2 separate regions of the Homo sapiens genome follow, and region 1 is linked to region 2. Evidence: promoter capture Hi-C in human tissues and cell types (Jung and others, 2019). All regions are on one chromosome and are shown on one strand. The core of a region is centred on a gene start or on the middle of the fragment in contact, and the rest is flanking DNA. Distances in the headings are between cores, read along the strand shown. Region 1 overlaps SHC4 (SHC adaptor protein 4). Region 2 holds the start of SECISBP2L (SECIS binding protein 2 like).

Region 1 (3,069 bases), core at 202-2,701, 150 kb before region 2:
TCTCACTAGTTAACGGACATTAAGTGCTGGTTTTTTCCTGTCCCCACAGAGATTTCCTGTAATACAATCATGTATCTCAAAATTCAAACACCTACACCCACAAACTGATGGCTTATAGGCTTTATAAGTGGTTAAAGAAATGACAATAAGAAATAGAGTTGGTTTCATATAAAATACATGGGAATTTATAAATTCAAAAGATTGTTCTCCTTTAGGGTAAACTGGGCTTCTTTAAAACAACTTTGTTTTTGACAAAATATTCAAAATATTATGAAGGTGTGTCTTTTGGAGTTAAAGAGTGCACTGATGCATAATGTGGTCACTTAAAAGCCAAAGCTCATTTAGAAAAAAAAAAAAAAAAAACCGAAAACAGGTCTTACTTAGTCACCCACTTTATTCACTCAAGCTCACTCTAAGCAATGTATATCTACTTCCAAAAATTCTTCAGAGAATACTTGGAATTTTAAAGATATTTAAAACAGTTTGGCCAGGTGTGGTGGCTCACACCTGTAATCTTTGTACTTTGGGAGGCCAAGGTAGGCGGATCACTTGAGGTCAAGAGTTTGAGACCAGCCTGGCCAACATCGTGAAACCCCATCTCTAGTAAAAATACAAAAATTAGCTGGGCATGGTGGTGCACATCTGTAATCCCAGCTATTAGGGAGGCTGAGGCAGGAGAATTGCTTGAACCGGGAGGTGGAGGTTGCAGTGAGCCAAGATTGTGCCATTGCACTACAACCTGGGTGACAGAGCAACCCTCCGTCTCAATAAATAAATAAATGAATAAATAAATAAACAAACAGTAAAACAGTTTGTCATACAGGTGTCTATATTACTGAGCAAGACAGCAATTGGTGTAATGAATATATTACTTCTACCACTGTTTTTTTTTTTAAATAACTCTGGTTCTTTTAAAGGCTATTTGGCAAATATGTTGTAAATTTTTTTGGGAATTCCATTTTTTTAAATGTGTGTGCACCTCTGGAAGGAACGAACAACTGGCCTACCAAGTTAATCCACCTTGACAAATAATAGTAGGACAACTTCAGCTTGCACATCCACAGAGAGTACACCATTTAGGTAAGTGGTGATCAAACTGTAAAGTTCTTAAGAATCAACTGGGTGCTGGTTAAAATACAGATTTCTAGGACTGTTCCTAGAGGTTTTGATTCTGAGGTGAGGCCTAGGAATCTACAGCTTAACAAACCTTCCAAGTGATTCTGACACAGAGTTCATGAACCACACAGCTGATTAAACCTACTTGGACTCGTTGCATTGAGTAACAGGTTCTGTGCTCTATAGCTTAGACCAGATGGTTGTGTTAGTGCGTGTTAAGGAATGAGGTCACCTCTTCCTAGAGGCTAGGCTAGGGAAGGTTACACTGTCTATACGTTTGATGATATTCCGTTCTGGGGAATTTTGTTTTCAATGTAGTCACTCTATATTCTGGGATAGATATTTGGTATAATCCTCTCTTCTCCTCTCTGCCTCCCCCATTCTCATCTCCTAAAGAAGAAGGGCTTTATGGCTGGGCGCAGTGGCTCACACCTGTAATCCCAGCACTTTGGAAGGGCTAGGTGGGAGGATGACCTGAGGTCAGGAGTTCAAGACCAGCCTGGCCAACATAGTGAAACCCCATCTCTACTAAAAATACAAAAGTAGCCGGAAGTGGTGGTGGGCACCTGTAGTCCTAGCTACTTGGGAGGCTGAGGCAGGAGAATCTCTTGAACCTGGGAGGTGGAGGTTGCAGTAAGCTGAGATCGTGCTACTGCACTCCTGCCTGGGCTACAGAGTGAGATTCCAACTCAAAAAAAAAAAAAGAAAAAAAGAAGAAGAAGAAGGGCTTTTACCAGAGGGCACATGGAGGTCCTGAACATCTTTGCTTACATCACCCTTTGCACACACAAGCAGTGAGAGAGTGGCCTGCATTCTCTCTCTTATCTGGAGGCAGCAAGGTCATCCTGGAGGCAGCAAGATCTAATCTATTTGCCCCTAAAATGCATTCAACACTCTAGGCAGTGGTTCTCAGCCTTGGCTGCACATTGGACTACACCACCAAGAATTTTACGAAGTTCTGAAGACTGGGTCTCAGCTCCAGAGATTCTGAATTAATTGGTGCCGGACAGGGCTTGGGGGTCAGAAGTTTTAAGATCTCTTCCAAATGCTTCCAACAAGGCTAAGGTTGAGAATCACTCTAGCAGCAGTTGGCAAACTTTTTCTGAAAAGGGCCAGGTAGGAAATATTTTAGCCTTTGCAGGTTATATAGTTTCTGTTACAGCTACTCAATTCTGCTGTTGTAGCTAGAAAAACAGCCATAGGCAATCCATAAACAAATGGATGTGCTTGTGTGCCAGTAACACTTATGGACACTGAAATTTGAATTCCATATGATTTTCATGTGTCACAAAATATTCTTTTGGGGTGTTTTTTCCAACCATTTAAAAATTGTCAAAACCATTCTTGGCTGACAAGGTGGCAAAATCGAAATCAGGTAGCAGGTGGGATTTGGCCTGCAGGCTGTTGTTCTCTGACTCTTGCTCTAAAGCAAACCGGAAACAAATGTAAGAGGCTTTGGGGTCGTGGTCAGTTATTAGCTTGTGCATGGTGCAAAGCTTATTAGAGTGTAATCTTTTGCAAGGATTGTTTATACATATTTTGAACTTTGTCTTGTTCGGTTTCTTGGTACAGGAAGTTGGGTATTATAAGAAAGGGGTCTTTCCCTATGTCAGTATAAGAATTATGGGACTCCCTTTACGCTGTAAATTATTGTTTTTCCATTCTTTTATTCTAACAGCACTCAGTAGAGGCAGATGGAAACAAATTATTTTTTCCTTTTAATTATCATCTAACCTTCATTAAGTGATACTATGTACATGAAACAGTGCAAAGTGTTTGGGCAAGCAATACAGAAATAAACAAAAGTGCAAAATTATAGTAACTGTTAAAATTTGATGGCTTTATCTATAACTCTACTTTCTAATGATAATAGAAAGTGAGGAAAAGCTAGTCAGGTAGACTCTGCAGTTAGCCAGAGTTCAAAATCTAGCTGTCTCTTACAATCTCTGTCAC
Region 2 (3,293 bases), core at 400-2,899:
CCATCTAAATAGTTAATTATATTTCCTCTAGGATGAAAGGAACTCTAAGTATACATAAGGTAGCATTACTGGTTTTAGTCCTGGCATCCTAGTGAAGGAACAAAATGTTGAACCCTTTCATTAGTAACACACATACAAGGAAATGATTCAAGGAAAATTCGTATTCATTTGTCAGGCTTTGAAATCTCAGGTATTTATGATAGATACCTTCAAAAATGTTTTTAAATTAAACTAGATACAGGCTGTATACAGAATACTTCTGGGTCACATAAATGCCTAAGTGTATTTGCCAAGAGACTCTGTATCAATTTCTCTTTGGTAATTCCATGTATTGTTTTATAAAACTCATTTGTGTCTTCAGAGTTACATTCACATAAAGCTTTTTTTTAAAAAAAAAAGTCTTCTGTAAAAACAAGTATACACAACTAGGAAGCTGTGCTTTGCCTGCTAAGAGTCCGATTTCAAAATACAAACCGGCTTCAACTACATATAGACACATACAGGAATTTGGGAAATCTTATCTCATTAATTCAGGTGCTAATTATCCAACTGTAAAATTAATAGGCAGAAATTACTAGCCTCTCTTCTTCCGTCATCTAGTCATCAATGGGCAAGGCCTTCGAAGAAGGGAATAGAGAGTGAATAAACTTGGACTTCAAATTAAGTCGTTTCGCAGAGATCTTAAGAGTGGAAAATACTGGGGGGGAAACTATTGTTTTCGATTACTTTTAACACTGTTATCATCCCTGCCTGCTACCACCTACTAGCATGCATAATCAGGAATTTGATGCAAATAAAAATAAAACAGAACACTAATAGGACTACTTTGCGAATATGAAAACGGGTTCGAAAATAAGCTTATGCTTTACACCCTTAAAATAGAGCTAGCTTTAAAAAAAAACCCACTAATTACAATTCTTTGCAAAATAACTGGATAAAAGGACAAGGGGAAATCGTAGTATCGTTTCTTAAAAGAAACACCTCCGTAAAACCACTGCAAAAACAATGCTTCGCTCCATTGAACACAGACCTAAAAGGCCCGTGACTTCCCTTCATCTGTAGTTACCACACATTCTCTTACAGTCTTTCTGGGTGAGAAGCCTTCAAACGCCTTTCCACCTTGAAAACACATTCCAGAGCTGAAGGGAATGGGGGAAGCGGGGAGACTACTAGAAGTTATAAGCCCTCCTCCCAGGAGAGCAGGGACAACTTGGAGCCTTCTGACCCCTTCACCAAGCAGGGGAGAAGCGGCAACGGCGAGCCCTCCGCCTGGGAAGTAATCAGGGTTGGAAAAGCCCCCAAGTCCCAGGCAGCAGCTGGAACAATGAAGGAGAGCTGGGAGCTGCCAGGCTCCCAGGTGAGGGGGTCTGCGGCCGCAGGACCGGCCCCCGGTCCCCACGTTCGGAGAACTGGGCCTGGCCTGTGAGGAAGCGGCGACCCCAACCCCCGGCTCGGCGGGCCCAGCCCAAACCCGCGTACCTGCTCCGTGGGGGCTCGGTCCATGGTGCCTGCAGCCGCAACGGGCCCGCGCTAGTCGGTGTAAACAGCGCCTCGGGCCGCTTTCTCCATGGCCCCCCGCTCGGGTCCAGACTGGGTTCCGGACCTCCGCCCCTATCTGGCTGGCCGCGACACCGATTCGGCTACGCCACTGGCCGAGGAGGCGGCTCCAGCTCCGGGAGATGGAGGAGGCGGTGGCAGCTTCGGGGAGGGATCATCTGGGACGGAAGCCGAGGAGGGCCCGAATGGGCTGGAGGCGTAGTTAGAAATGGAGGCGCACGGAAGGAAAAGGAGTGGGGAGGAGGCAGAGAGGGGCAGTGGGCGGAGTGACAGCAAATGGCCTCAGCAAGGGTAGGAGGAACCCGGCCTGGCCTGGAGGCTAAGGCCAGGTGGAGGCGCCCAGGAGCAGGTGCCCCGAACCACACGCCACCCCTGCGACTGTTAAACGAGAAGTGTCAGACCACTTGGGACCCAGGTCTCCCGGGACTTCAAAGACCTCTTCAGGATCTGAAACCACCTCTTAGTGATGTTGGAAAAGCTTTCATCTGCCCACCGTACATCTGCTCCTTCCTTATGTTACGCAAATAAAGGGAGTCATGACTATAAAGGAATGAGAATATTCTGAAAATAATGGAGTCTTGCCCTAGAAAAATGCATATGTAAAACGCATACACAGAATGACTGGAAGAGGCCCGCTAGGAAGCTCCCCACAAATATTTATTGAGAGTTAATTCATTATCCAGGTTCATGCCCACTTCTAGGCTCACATCCAGGCTGACCTCGCCCATCTCAGAAATCCTAATTTTATGCAGGATCTGTATAACACCACCCAACGGGTAATTATTTTATCTTCAGATCCTTAGCTCCTTAAGGGCAGAGACTGTCTTGAAACTGGGCACTACCGTTAGCATGGCAAATTTCTTCTGGGCATCTCCTCAGACACACCCTCCAACACCCACACCCTCTGTGAAGATTCAACCAACTGCGGATAGAAATATTTTGAGGAAAAAAGAAATATCAAGTACAACAATAAAATACAAGTAATACAGTTTAACAACTGCTTATACAGCATTTACATTGTATTAGGTATTATAAGTAATCTAGAGATGATTTAAAGTATATCGGAGGATATGCATGGATTGTATGCAAATACTACACCATTTTATATAAGGATCTTTAGCACTCATGGATTTTGGTATCAGCAGGGATCCTGGAGCCAATATCCCCCCTGGGATACTTAGGGACAACTGTATAAGCTAAATTACACTTAAGTGAAGGTAGAGTTGAGGTGGCTGCTGTTTGGGGCACTGGTGTGGAGATCCACAGCTAGGAATGGGAAAGAGATTTTAAGAAATTTGCTTTGTCATGCTTCAGGAGATATCAGTAAAGACTAATTGCCTTTTCAGTTAGTCTAGGTTATTAGTCTGGTTATTAGACTCCAATATGAGGCTTGTTATGTGAAGGCCCCTTGCTGTACTTATGTTGATACAGGTTGGGTATCTCTAATGGAAACTATGAAATTCCAAACCCTCTTGAATCCCAAATGTTCCAAAATTAGAAACTTTCTGAGCACAGACATGACATTTAAGGATAATGTTCGCTGGAACATTTCAGATTTTGGACTTCCAGTTTAGAGATGCTCAACCAGTAAGTATAATGCAAATCTTCCAAAATCCAAAATCTGAAACACTTATGGTTTCAAGTATGTCAAAATAAGGGACATTCAACCTGTATTATATATTGGCCTGCTGAAAGGAGCTATATTGTGTCAGCAAGACTTATATCAAGGCTGGCAA

What was found. Contacts are between HindIII fragments. The study calls those that stand out against the background at their distance.
Region 1: a fragment that was not itself captured here is called in contact with the fragment with the promoter of SECISBP2L in region 2 in 1 of the 25 tissues and cell types used here (hippocampus).

What each region holds. Positions count from the first base shown.
Region 1 is chr15:48,898,700-48,901,768 of GRCh38, forward strand. All of the region lies in intron 2 of SHC4 (SHC adaptor protein 4), which reads right to left. Among named protein-coding and RNA genes, the nearest start is that of EID1, 22 kb to the left of the region's middle. The HindIII fragment of the contact is 7,421 bases long and covers 1-3,069 here.
Region 2 is chr15:49,044,797-49,048,089 of GRCh38, forward strand. SECISBP2L (SECIS binding protein 2 like) reads right to left here and starts at 1,650. Exons shown (of 18, transcript NM_001193489.2): 1 at 1,480-1,650. The coding sequence starts at 1,503. RefSeq lists enhancers at 1,107-1,246, 1,537-1,886, 1,987-2,116. The HindIII fragment of the contact is 5,737 bases long and covers 619-3,293 here.